Regions from separate parts of the Homo sapiens genome. Here all the other regions are linked to region 2. Evidence: promoter capture Hi-C in 16 types of primary human blood cells and fetal thymus (Javierre and others, 2016). All regions are on one chromosome and are shown on one strand. The core of a region is centred on a gene start or on the middle of the fragment in contact, and the rest is flanking DNA. Distances in the headings are between cores, read along the strand shown. Region 1 overlaps SETDB1 (SET domain bifurcated histone lysine methyltransferase 1). Region 2 holds the start of TARS2 (threonyl-tRNA synthetase 2, mitochondrial). Region 3 holds the start of ARNT (aryl hydrocarbon receptor nuclear translocator). Region 4 has its middle 16 kb from the start of CTSS.

Evidence for each region. Contacts are between HindIII fragments. The CHiCAGO score rates a contact against its expected background, and 5 or more counts as called.
Region 1: a contact is called between a fragment that was not itself captured here and the fragment with the promoter of TARS2 in region 2, in 1 of 17 cell types (non-activated CD4 T cells). The highest score is 5.4, in non-activated CD4 T cells.
Region 3: a contact is called between the fragment with the promoter of ARNT here and the fragment with the promoter of TARS2 in region 2, in 8 of 17 cell types (fetal thymus, naive CD8 T cells, neutrophils and 5 more). The highest score is 8.4, in fetal thymus.
Region 4: a fragment that was not itself captured here is called in contact with the fragment with the promoter of TARS2 in region 2 in 1 of 17 cell types (neutrophils); the score reaches 5.3 in neutrophils.

Annotation. Positions count from the first base shown.
Region 1 is chr1:150,926,560-150,929,932 of GRCh38, reverse strand. It overlaps SETDB1 (SET domain bifurcated histone lysine methyltransferase 1), which reads right to left. Exons shown (of 22, transcript NM_001366418.1): 2 at 1,959-2,229. The coding sequence starts at 2,218. Among named protein-coding and RNA genes, the nearest start is that of SETDB1, 1.9 kb to the right of the region's middle. The HindIII fragment of the contact is 3,618 bases long and covers 1-3,059 here.
Region 2 is chr1:150,485,701-150,488,753 of GRCh38, reverse strand. TARS2 (threonyl-tRNA synthetase 2, mitochondrial) reads right to left here and starts at 1,335. Exons shown (of 18, transcript NM_025150.5): 1 at 1,238-1,335; 2 at 700-896. The coding sequence starts at 1,303. RefSeq lists enhancers at 1,241-1,510, 1,004-1,510. The HindIII fragment of the contact is 2,845 bases long and covers 351-3,053 here.
Region 3 is chr1:150,875,208-150,878,582 of GRCh38, reverse strand. It overlaps ARNT (aryl hydrocarbon receptor nuclear translocator), which reads left to right and starts at 1,984. Exons shown (of 22, transcript NM_001668.4): 1 at 1,984-2,040. The coding sequence starts at 2,016. It also overlaps a transcript of LOC107985204 not described here. RefSeq lists silencers at 1,652-1,925, 1,929-2,358. The HindIII fragment of the contact is 12,157 bases long and covers 1-3,375 here.
Region 4 is chr1:150,780,302-150,783,498 of GRCh38, reverse strand. It overlaps the pseudogene LOC100132571. Among named protein-coding and RNA genes, the nearest start is that of CTSS, 16 kb to the right of the region's middle. RefSeq lists enhancers at 911-1,767, 1,768-2,625. The HindIII fragment of the contact is 8,697 bases long and covers 1-3,197 here.

The DNA.
Region 1 (3,373 bases), core at 1-2,500, 440 kb before region 2:
CAGTAGAGGAATTAAGAGATATAGAATCCATTACGATGTATATATATTTAAGTATAGACAGTCCTCAATTTAAATGGGCCACATTCCAAAGTGTCTCTGTTTAGAATTTAGAATGCTTTTTCTATAGAAAAATGTTTTAAATAGTGGTTTAGTTTCCAGACTAGTTCCTCAAAAATCCAAAGTAAGCCCAAAGTACAGTACTTTCACCCTTACCTCATTATTTACCTTGCTGTTATCTGAAAATGTATCCTGGCTGGCAGTGGTGGCTCACACCTGCAATCCCAGCAATTTGGGAGGCTGAGGCAGGTAGATCACTTGAGGTCAGGAATTTGACCTCCCCAGCCTGGCCGACATGGTAAAACTCCATCTCTACTAAAAATACAAAAATTAGCCGGGTGTGGTGGCACACGCTTGTCGTCCCAGCTACTCCGGAGGCTGAGACAGGAGAGCTGCTTGAACTCGGGAGGCGGAGGCTGCAGTGAGCCGAGATCACGTCACTGTACTCCAGCCTGGGTGAGACAGAGCAAGTCTCTGTCTAAAAAAAAAATAAAATAAAATAAAAATAAAATAAAAAAATGCTCATTATCAGTGGCCATCAGAGAAATGCAAATCAAAACCACCATGAGATACCGTCTCACACCAGTTAGAATGGCGATCATTAAAAAGTCAGGAAACAACAGGTGCTGGAGAGGATGTAGAGAAACAGGAACACTTTTACACTGTTGGTGGGACTGTAAACTTGTTCAACCATTGTGGAAGACAGTGTGGCGATTCCTCAAGGATCTAGAACTAGAAATACCATTTGACCCAGCAATCCCATTACTGGGTATATACCCAAAGGATTATAAATCATGCTGCTATAAAGACACATGCACACGTATGTTTATTGCGGCACTATCCACAATAGCAAAGACTTTAAACCAACCCAAATGTCCATCAATGATAGACTGGATTAAGAAATGTGGCACATATACACCATGGAATACTATGCAGCCATAAAAAAGGATGAGTTCATGTCCTTTGTAGGCACATGGATGAAGCTGGAAACCATCATTCTGAGCAAACTATAGCAAGGACAGAAAACCAAACACCGCACGTTCTCATTCATAGGTGGGAATTGAACAATGAGAACACCTGGACACAGGATGGGGAACGTCACATACTGGGGCCTGTCGTGGGGTGGGGGGAAGGGGGAGGGATAGTATTAGGAGATATACCTAATGTAAGTGACACCAACATGGCACATGTATACATATGTAATAAACCTGCACGTTGTGCACATATACCCTAGAACTTAAAGTATAATAAATTTAAAAACAATGTATTCTAAGTGACAACTAGAGCACCAGAAACAAATCTTTTGGGGGTATGGGAACTTACTAATGCTTCAGAGTTACGTAAGACAGAAATTCTTTACAATCCTCACTCCCTGGATGATCTTACTAGGGAAATGAAGCAATTGTTCTAAGATAGAGCACAGGAGGAAGAAGGGGAAAGGACTTAAGACTTGGACTCCCTTACTGCTGATCATGTATTAGCTGCTGACAGATGAAAATTATATTTACGGCTGATTGTAAGGTCAGATTTTTGACCATAAACTTTGAGGAAGAGTAAGGTTCTAAACATCTGTACTTCATAAAGTATAAAATGTTTGGTACACAGCCTGGCCAACATGGTGAAACCCTGTCTCTACTAAAAATATAAAAAATTAGCTGGGTGTGGTGGCGGATGCCTATAATTCCAGCTACTCGGGAGGGGGAGGTGGGAGAATCACTTGAACCCGAGAGGTGGAGGTTGCAGTGAGCCAGGATCACTCCACTGCACTCTAGCTTGGGTGACAGAGCGAGACTCCGTCTCAAAACATAAAATAAAATGCTTGGTTCAATGTCATGAACAATTATTCTCTAAAAACATCTCCCAATGGAGAGATTTCCTTCTATTTTCCATGGAGTTCTCACCTGGATGCATCATCAAAGAGTTGGTCAACGTGAGCCACCTCAGATTCTTTCTGTATTACCCATGTCTCTAACTCTGCTAGCTGCTTCTTGCGTTGCTGTACACAATCCATCTTCTCCAGTTCCTCATCGATGAAATGCCGAAGTTCCTCCATAGAGATACCCAGTTCCTCAACCACTGCCTGTTGCAGCTCTGCAATCTCTTCAGACTCCACTGTAGCTGTTGCTGCATCCAAACCAATGCACCCAGGAAGGGAAGACATGCTTTTGTCCTCTGCATGGAACAGAAAACAAATTAAATTGGAGTCCTTATAACTACAATCAATCAATAGAGAATTTCAGTTCCCTAATAAAACTAATTCCTACTCTGCTGCCTGTTATTCTATTCAAATATTCCATGTTCTCCCTCCCTATTCTCCAGAATCTGATGCTGAGATTTTTAAGAGTTCTTATCTTCTGCTGTACGCTAACACTCCTGAAAAAGATTTAAGAGTTTGAGACGGCATGGAGAACATTCATTAAGCAGTAGAGAGCTACTGAAAATAATGTTTTGGGCTGGCACAGTGGCTTACACCTGTAATCTCAGCACTTTTAGAGGCCGAGGCAGGAGGGTCGCTTGAGGGCAGGAGTTCAAGACCAGCCTGGGCAACATGGCAAGACTCGTCTTTACAAAAAAATACAAAAATTAGCCACGTGTGGTGGTGCACGCCTTTAGTTCCAGCTACTCAGGAGGCTGAAGTGGGAGGATCGCTTGAGCCCAGGAGTAGCTGCTGTAGTGAGCTATGTTCGCGCCATGCATTCCAGCTTGGGTGACAAAGTGAGACCCTGTCTCAAAACAAACCGAACTTTAAAAATAATCTTTTGGGATACTGAAGAGAACCAATCTATAAGATATTTTTGTGGTCTATATGTGTTCCTTAACTAATGTGATAAATCTTTGTATGCTATGCCTAATTTAAACAAAACCCCACCTGGGGATGGAGTTGATTTGGAACTCACTAACTCAGTGTTTTCTCTTTCATTACTTGTTCCCCTTATATTACTTTGCTTCCATGTGGAATTTTACTTTTTAAAAAGTCTATGATATTCAAACACACGAAAGCTTGCAGCAAAAAGGTTTCCCCCAAAGTACAGAGAAGTAAAGCAACCTGGGAATAAAACGTGGGTACCTAATATCCACAATCCAAATACTTCACACATTCGTGTGAACTGCTTTTTTAATCAAACGGTTAAAGAAAATCTGATTTTCAGCGCCTCCATTTTCCTCTGCCCACACACCAGCCCACCCCCGTGCTACCCATTCTAGGGGTGCGTCCTACCCATTCGCAAACCCAGTTCAGCCCCGCCCCCGTTCGCCTCTGGGGAAGACTTCCTTCCCACCCTCGCCCGACCCCCTCCCACAAACAAAACGTCCCAGA
Region 2 (3,053 bases), core at 86-2,585:
GAATATGCTCTAATGTTCCATAGCAGAGTTGGGTGAATACAGTTAATAATAATTTATTGTATATTTCAAAATAGCTAGAAGATTTGAAATAGTCCCAACACAAAGAAATGATAAATGTTTGGGGTAACAGATATCCTGAACACCCTGATTTGATCATTACATATTGTATGCATATATCAAAATATCACATATACCCATTCATATGTTCAATTATTATGTATCAATTATTAAAAAGTAAATTAATGATTTAAAACAGACAGGGTTACAATCCACAGTGGGGAGAAAGTTGCTCATCTCTCAGCAACTGTAAACTTGCAAAGGTGAAATGAGTTACCAGAGCAACAGAAGCTTTCATTTCTTTCCCCAATGAAAGGACAGAGACTCTGATGCAGAAACTAATACAGATAAAACAAATCTCAGGCCGGGTTTGGTGGCTCATGCCTGTAATCCCAGCACTTCGGGAGGCTGAGATGGAAGGATCGCTTGAGCCCAGGAGTTCAAGACTAGCCTGGGCAACATGGAGAGACCCCGTCTGTATAAAAGAACAACAACAAAAAACAAAAACAAAATCTTCAGGAAAGGCTATCTTAATGGGGACGGAACAGAAACAAGCAGACCAAGTTTTCTTCCCCTGCTCAAGTGAAGAGAAAGTAAAGGGGCAGAAGGATAATCCTGGTAGTTACAGGATGGGCCTGTTACCTGATCTGCCGGGCTAGTTGGTAGGGGGTTGTGTTCCATGCCACAGCATCAATTTTCTGGCCTCCAGGAAGTGATATCTTAATAGTCCGGGGTTCCTTCTGTGCCATGCTTGCTAATCTCTTTACCTGAGCAGCCCACAGCTCCTCAAAAAGGCCAAGCCGCTCTGCCAACCAGCGTGGAGGGGTCGACACAACTGCCTGGAGGGAAAGATATATTAGCAGGTAACACACGTCCCATCATTCTTTCTTAGAATTGCAGATGATGGCACTTTGGGATGGTTAAGTGGACTTCGTCCGAATTCCTACTTTTTAAGGGGATTGGGTGATACAAGACCCTAGGCTGGGGGTCCTTCGAGCTCAGAGTCCCCCAGACCGCTAACTCGAGAATTAGATAACGAGTTTAGATACGAGTCCTTTTCTGGGGACTCGGAGGACCAGGGAGAGGAGGAGTGGCGTGAGGCTGGGTTAACATAAAAATTTGGGGGCTTCGGCTGGGCTAAGTCTGATGCGGATCGGAGCTTTGGGGGTGCCTCACGCACCGTGTGTAGCCTGCAAGCCTGTAAACCTTGGAGCCGGAGACACCGCCACCTCTGATACAGGGCCATGTTCCTTCACACCAGTGCCTACATCCTCAAACAGATTATCGCCGCTTCTCCTCCACGTAATTCTTCATTGGCTTCTGGTCCAACAAAGTCCGTGTCTATTGGTTACTACAGCTGCCACTCTAGTCTGGCACCACCTCCAGGAACTCCGAAGAGGTACACCCTACACAGCACCAGCAGCGGTGTGAGTGGTTCCGGCTGACCGGAAGACCGAAAATGTAACACACCCTCGCTATTCCCCCAGACCCGTGGCGTTTCAGCTGAAACCCAAAAATAGCAATTAGGCGTCCTGTGGCTTTGAGGACAAGGGCAGGTGAACTTTTGAGGGCGAGAGTGGGAGAAAACCAGACAGGAAATGGTAGTAATTTCCCTTTAACTATACATTTTATTTTACGTGGTCCTTACAGCAAGTAGCAAAACTTAAGAGCATAGACTGGGGAACCAGACAGACCTAGTGTAAATTCTGGATCTGCCATTAACTATGTAATTTTGGGAAAATTATTAAACTTCTCATATTTATTTAATAGAGACCGGGGGGGGCGGGAGGGGGGGGCGGGTCTCACTATGTTGGCCAGGGTAGTCTCGAACTCCTGGCCTCAAGCAATCCCTCCCCTCCCCCCCACCAAACCGCCACCGCGCTCCGGCCTCCCAGAGTTCTGGAATTACAGGCATGAGCCGCCTTGCCTGACCTATTTAATTTCTCTAAGCCTCAATTTTCTCAACTATAAAATGAGAATAGTGTTGCTCCCAATTGTTGAGTTAAATTTTATGTAAATCGTCTAGTGTGGCCCATGGTTTTTTGGTAATGGGCAAAAGCAACAAGAAGCTATTATGATAAATGACTGTAACAGTTTTATTTTTTAATTTTGAGACAAGGTCTCACCGTTGCCCAGGCTGGAGTGCAGGGGTACAATCATGGCTCACTGCAGTCTCGACCTCCTGGGCTCAACTGACCACCTCAGCCTCTGGAGTAACCACTTTAAAGCTGGAGCAAAGATGGCCGCGCGCAGTGGCTCACGCTGTAATCCCAGCACTTTGGGAGGCCGAGGCAGGTGGATCACCTGAGGTCAGGAGTTCTAGACCAGCCTGGCCAACATGGTGAAACCCCGTCTCTACTAAAAATACAAAAATTAGCTGGGCGTGGTGGTGGGCGCCTGTAATCCCAGCTACTTGGGAGGCCGAGGCGGGTGGATCACCTGAGGTCAGGAGTTCTAGACCAGCCTGGCCAACATGGTGAAACCCCGTCTCTACTAAAAATACAAAAATTAGCTGGGCATGGTGGTGGGCGCCTGTAATCCCAGCTACTTGGGAGGCTGAGACAGGAGAATCGCTTGAACCCGGGAGGTGGAGGTTGCAGTGAGCCGAGATCACGCCATGCACTCCAGCCTGGGGGACAAGAGCGAGACTTCATCTCAAAACAAAACAAAAACAAAAAAGCTGGAATCAAGAATCTGCAGAGGTCAGTTTGAGTCCCTTTATACTCATGGTGCTTAATAGGGACTTTATAGACCTTTTAATCTTTTTTTTTTTTTTTTGAGATGGAGTTTCACTCTTGTTGCCCAGGCTGGAGTGCAGTGGCGTGATCTCGGCTTACCGCAACCTCCGCCTCCCCAGGTTCAAGCGCTTCTCCTGCCTCAGCCTCCCGAGTAGCTGGGATTACAGGCATGTGCCACCCCAGGCCCAGCTAATTTTGTATTTTTAGTAGAGACAGGGTTTCTCCATGTTGGTCAGGCTGGTCCCGAACTCCCAGCAT
Region 3 (3,375 bases), core at 735-3,234, 390 kb before region 2:
TACCTTTGCAGTAAACTAAATAAGTGGATCAATGTAATCTGCGCAGTACATATACAACTTCTAAGAATGCAAAGCTGTTCAATAGCATAATGGGATTTTTGTTAAAATTTTAATTAAATTTGTATTAAACATTTTGTGAGCGATACATGAAAATGGAAGTACTTTGTAGTGCTAAAATTGTAGTGCTAAAATAGGGGGATGGGTGGAACAGGTTTCCAGTGTCAGACTCCTTTAGTTTGCCTCCCACATTACTTACCTGCTGGATGTCCCTTGCTTACCCTCTTTGTTTCTGTTTCCTTAATTGCAAAATGGAAATAGCAGTAGAACCTACCTCATCGTTGTTGTGAGGATTAAATGAGTAAATACATATAAAGCATTTTGGACAGTGCCTACCTCGAATAGCTCAATGCTTCCTATTACCAGGAAACAAAAATTAGCCGGGCGTGGTGGTGCGCGCCTGTAATCCCAGCTACTCAGGAGGCTGAGGCAGGATAACTGCTTGAACCCGGGAGGGAGAGGTTGCAGTGAGCCAAGATCGCACCACTGCACTCCAGCCTGGGTGATGGAGCAAGACTCCGTCTCAGAAAAAAATAAAGAAAAAAGAAAATAAATCTGCACAGCCATCATCTTATTGATTCCCTATTAAAAACTCCTCACTGGCCAGGTGTGGTGGCTCACGCCTGTAATCCCAACAGTTTGTGAGACCGAGGCGGGCAGATTGCCTGATGTCAGGAGTTCGAGACCAGCCTGGCCAACGTCGTGAAACTCCATCTCTACTAAAAATACAAAAAACATTAGCCAGGCGTGTGGCGTGCGCCTGTAATCCCAGCTACTCAGGAGACTGAGGCAGGGGAATTGCTTGAACCGGGGAGGTGGAGGTTGCAGTGAGCCGAGATTGCGCCACTGCACTCCAGCCTGGGCGACAGAGAGAGACTCTGTCTCAAAAACAGACAAACAAAACTCCTCACTCTGTCCCTGTCACTGACCAAAGAAGTTACCCATTCTCAAATTACTTTCTTCATCTATTGCCTCCAATTTTGGCTGGCAATATCTCCCATACCAAACCGTTAACACCTGGATCCTTTTAGACTACCGGTTCCATAGCAGGCATTCAAAAGTTAGTCATTTAACTTTTTCACCAGGGACAAAAGTCCTTAAAAGAGGAAAAAAACTGGAAAGGATTACAAATCACCATGTGATGTTTAGGTGCTCTTTAGCACCTAAAGAGGATTTACAAGATACATTGTCTGCACGGCAACCACTCAGACGAATCCACCACCAAGCGAAGGTTTTTAGTAAAATATCCTTTTTTTTTTTTTTGAGACGGAGTTTCGCTCTTGTTGCCCAGACTGGCGTGCAGTGGCGCTATCTCGGCTCACTGCAACCTCTGCCTCCCAGGTTCAAGCGATTCTCCTGCCTCAGCCTCCCAAGAAGCTGGGATTACAGGCATGCGCCACCACGCCCGGCTAATTTTGTATTTTTAGTAGAGACGGGGTTTCGCCATGTTGGCCAGGCTGGTTTCGAACCCCTGGCCACAGGTGATCCGGCCGCCTCGGCCTCCCAAAGTGCTGGGATTACAGACGCGAGCCACCGCGCCCAGCCTAAAATACCCATTTTAATTGCATTTCAATGACGTTACTCGGTCATTGACCTCTTACGCAAGGAGGGCGAGATTAGGGAGACAGCTGGACTTCTTCCTCGCCCTCCCTTCACTGGACTGGCTGGCGCAGTGAGTAGCCCTGCCCTTGGACGATTTGGCATTTTCATTGGTCAATTTTTCTTAGGAGGCTGGCCGTGTGTTGACTCCGCCTACTATATAGGCGGGGTCTCCCCGCCGCAGGGGCTGGGATGCTGGGGGCTGCTGAAGCCGCCATCTTGGATTCCGCGGTAGCGGAGGCGGCGGTCAGGCGCCGCTTCTGGGGAGTGGCCTTTCTTTTCCCCTCCCTCCCGGTTCGGTGGCGGCGGCTCCTCCCACTGGGGGGGGGGGTGGCGCGGCGGCGGTGGCATCTGCGGCCATGGCGGCGACTACTGCCAACCCCGGTGAGGAGACGGAGGACTGGGGCGCCTCTAAAGGGGAGGGGCCGAAGGGGCTGACAACTAAGGAGACCCAGGGCTGAGGGGACGCAGCTGGAGCTGAAGGCGCCGGGGCGGGGCGGGGGCCGCGAGAGACGGTGGGGGAGCGGTGACCTGGGGAGGGGCCCGATCCCGGGGACTTGGGTAGACTCGAGTATACCCAAGGGAGCGAGGGGGCAGGTGGGAGTTGAGGGGGGCTCCCTGTCCTGACCTCCGTTGGAGCGGCAGCCAGTGCGGGGCTGGCCCGCCCTCACTCCTCGGTCGGCGTCTGGTCTGTGATGTGGTCCTCTTTTAACCCTCTGCCCGCTGGAGCCGCTTGATGCCGAAAACTGTAGGCAGAGTGTCTCGGTTTACTTTAAGAGTAGTTTGGATTCATAAACCCTGGACCACACTGCTCTTTAGTTGAGGCGTTGCTTCCAAACATTTAAAGGTTTAGATTTTAATTTAAAAAATAAAAAATGGACATTCTTTGATATATACGACGTTTCTTTAGGCTGTTACCTCCCACCCGCAACCCCCGTCCCCGTCTCCGTCCCCGGACTATACTTTGAAACTTAGATCTTGTGTTAAGAGGGCCTGTAGGTCTTTGCCTGCTGAGGGCAGGGGTTTGTGTAATGGTTATGGTTCCGGACAGGTCTTTAGTTCCACAGCCCCAGGTTTAAATCTTGTTAGGCCTACGTCGAGGCAATTTCCAAACTCTTTCAGAAAAGTTTGATTCCACACCATTTCTCAATTTCAAAAAATAATCAAATATCAAAAAGGTTTGGTCTGTTTTGTCTAAGAGATGGAGTAGGGTGTAGTGCAGTTCTAGAGAGATCAGATCTTCAAATTACTAGTCCCAGCCCTCTTTCCTCTATGTTACAGTTATTCCTCTTTAGAAGGCATTTCATTTTAGGGGTCTAGTTTATCTTGGAGACCTTGGTTATTCTTGCCAAATAAAGTCTATCCTTTTCCAAAAACCAATATATTTGATAGCCTTAAAAAGGGCCTTGAGATATGTGTGTGTGTTGCGTGGGGCGGAGAATTTCTTGAAAATAAAACAGTAGGAGTGATTACCCCCATCCCCACGTTGAAATTTAAATTAGATTTTTTTTCATGTTACTGAAAGGCAGTATGATTTTGCAATATCCAGATTTTGATAGGACAGTTGAATCACTGAAATTTCTTTTCTACCGTGTTTCTGGGAATAGCTATTTTAAGAAATGGTTAATTTGTCACGTCATTTTTTTTTAATCTTTTAAATTTTTTTTGAAGGAAAGGGAGGTAAAATTAATCGCAAAAATTACATTGCAGGAAGTGCTG
Region 4 (3,197 bases), core at 366-2,865, 290 kb before region 2:
CTTTTTCACCCTATTTCTATTTTTCCTCTAAATTTTGTATTTTAAACATACACTTGACCAACTTATCTTTCCAGATAAGATGAAGTGAGTTACTTTGTGCAAAAACAAATTTTTAACAACAAATCTTCCTAAGTTGACAATTCAGCCTCAAAGAAAAATCTTTATTTTTATAGCTTCCCTCTGTTTTAAATGGATTAAAGAGAAACCAGCATTCTTGTCTTAATACTAAATATAAAAAATGACAAGCCCTAGCTGTTTCTCAGATACAGATACTTTCTGTATCTTATTTTGGTTAAGTTTCAACAATTAAAGTGCAGGTTACTCTCTGAGATGATTAACTATTAAAATGACTTTTACAAATGTGAAACCAATTCTTTCCTTCGAGGAAGGTAAAGAGGAAGAGGCAAGTGGAGAAGAGGCATAAGATGACGGACAGGGTACATGAGGCTACGCATTCAGTGTATGATTCCGGTCACTTTTTCACAACGTGTGGTTATTTTTCTTGTATATCTTAGTAAGCCTCTAATAAAAGACAGTGCTAAATCTACAAATCAAGGAAAATTTGATAAAACATTCATCTTTAAGTTTCATAAATATATGCAATTCTTTTTTTTTAAATGCAGTCTCGCTCTGTCACCAAGGCTGGAGTGCAACGGAGCAACCTCAGCTCACTGCAGCCTCCACCTCCCAGGTTCAAGCAATTCCCCTGCCTCGGCCTGCCGAATAGCTGGGATTACAGGCATAAGCCACCACGCCTGGCTAATTATTTTGTATTTTTAGTAGGAATGGGGTTTCACCATGTTGCCAGGCTGGTCTCGAACTCCTGACCTCAGGCAATCCACATGCCTCCGCCTCCCAAAGTTCTGGGATTACAGGCATGTGCCACTGCACCTGGCCAATATGTGCAACTGTAATGATAAAGTTTCTACAATTCATTTGCATGTTTTCCTTTTTTTTTTTTTTAATTTATTTTTTTATTGATAATTCTTGGGTGTTTCTCACAGAGGGGGATTTGGCAGGGTCATGGGACAATAGTGGAGGGAAGGTCAGCAGATAAACAAGTGAACAAAGGTCTCTGGTTTTCCTAGGCAGAGGACCCTGCGGCCTTCCGCAGTGTTTGTGTCCCTGGGTACTTGAGATTAGGGAGTGGTGATGACTCTTAACGAGCATGCTGCCTTCAAGCATCTGTTTAACAAAGCACATCTTGCACCGCCCTTAATCCATTTAACCCTGAGTGGACACAGCACATGTTTCAGAGAGCACAGGGTTGGGGGTAAGGTCACAGATCAACAGGATCCCAAGGCAGAAGAATTTTTCTTAGTACAGAACAAAATGAAAAGTCTCCCATGTCTACTTCTTTCTACACAGACACGGCAACCATCCGATTTCTCAATCTTTTCCCCACCTTTCCCACCTTTCTATTCCACAAAGCCGCCATTGTCATCCTGGCCTGTTCTCAATGAGCGGTTGGGCACACCTCCCAGACAGGGTGGTGGCCGGGCAGAGGGGCTCCTCACTTCCCAGTAGGGGCGGCCGGGCAGAGGCGCCCCTCACCTCCCGGACGGGGCGGCTGGCCGGGCGGGGGGCTGACCCCCCCACCTCCCTCCCGGACGGGGCGGCTGGCCGGGCAGGGGGCTGACCTCCCACCTCCCTCCCGGACGGGGTGGCTGCCGGGCGGAGACGCTCCTCACTTCCCAGATGGGGTGGCTGCCGGGCGGAGAGGCTCCTCACTTCTCAGACGGGGCGGCTGCCGGGCGGAGGGGCTCCTCACTTCTCAGACGTGGCGGCCGGGCAGAGACGCTCCTCACCTCCCAGAGGGGGTCTCGGCCGGGCAGAGGCGCTCCTCACATCCCAGATGGGGCGGCGGGGCAGAGGCGCTCCCCACATCTCAGACGATGGGCGGCCGGGCAGAGACGCTCCTCACTTCCTAGATGTGATGGCGGCCGGGAAGAGGCGCTCCTCACTTCCTAGATGGGATGGCGGCCGGGAAGAGGCGCTCCTCACTTCCTAGATGGGATGGCGGCCGGGAAGAGGCGCTCCTCACTTCCTAGATGGGATGGCGGCCGGGAAGAGGCGCTCCTCACTTCCTAGATGGGATGGCGGCCGGGCGGAGACGCTCCTCACTTTCCAGACTGGGCAGCCAGGCAGAGGGGCTCCTCACATCCCAGACGATGGGCGGCCAGGCAGAGACACTCCTCACTTCCCAGACAGGGTGGCGGCCGGGCAGAGGCTGCAATCTCGGCACTTTGGGAGGCCAAGGCAGGCGGCTGGGAGGTGGAGGTTGTAGCGAGCCGAGATCACACCACTGCACTTCAGCCTGGGCACCATTGAGCACTGAGTGAACGAGACTCCGTCTGCAATCCCGGCACCTCGGGAGGCCGAGGCTGGCGGATCACTTGCGGTTAGGGGCTGGAGACTGGCCCGGCCAACACAGCGAAACCCCGTCTCCACCAAAACCAGTCAGGCGTGGCGGCGCGTGCCTGCAATCGCAGGCACTCGGCAGGCTGAGGCAGGAGAATCAGGCAGGGAGGTTGCAGTGAGCCGAGATGGCAGCAGTACAGTCCAGCTTCGGCTCCGCATGAGAGGGAGACCGTGGAAAGAGAGGGAGACCGTGGGGAGAGGGAGGGGGAGGGGGAGGGAGAGGGAGAGACTGCATGTTTTCATAGACTAATATAATATACAAACTTAGGGAAGTCTCCTGTTAATGCTGTTAATTTTGCCTCACCTGACATTTTCTTCATAAATATTCAATGAAGCCACAAAGATGCTGTAACTTTTTGGAATCTGTCCAAGTTTAAAAGAAAAAATTATCAGCAGCAATTCTGTAAAACAGAAGTGTGTCAATTCCTTACTTTCTTTTGCTTTCGGTGTCAGTTGTTTGAAAAACACCAGAAGCTGACATGAGATTTTCTATATGTTGTCCAACAACTTGGTTTTCTGATTTTAGCTTCAGATTTTCTTCCTTACCTGTGTTTGCTCTTGCAGAGAGATCTTCAAGTATGAGTTGGAATTTCCACACTTGATTAATAAGTCGTGTTGTTTTCCTCTAGTTCCACCTGATTTTCAGCATCAACTGCATCCATGTCAGCACTCATCATCTTGGGTAACAAACTTTTGAGCCTTGGACACAAAATGCATGATGAATGTTCTTCCAGTTTGAGGGGCCAGAAGTGGGAGGGTTTGGGCGGATGCCTCAG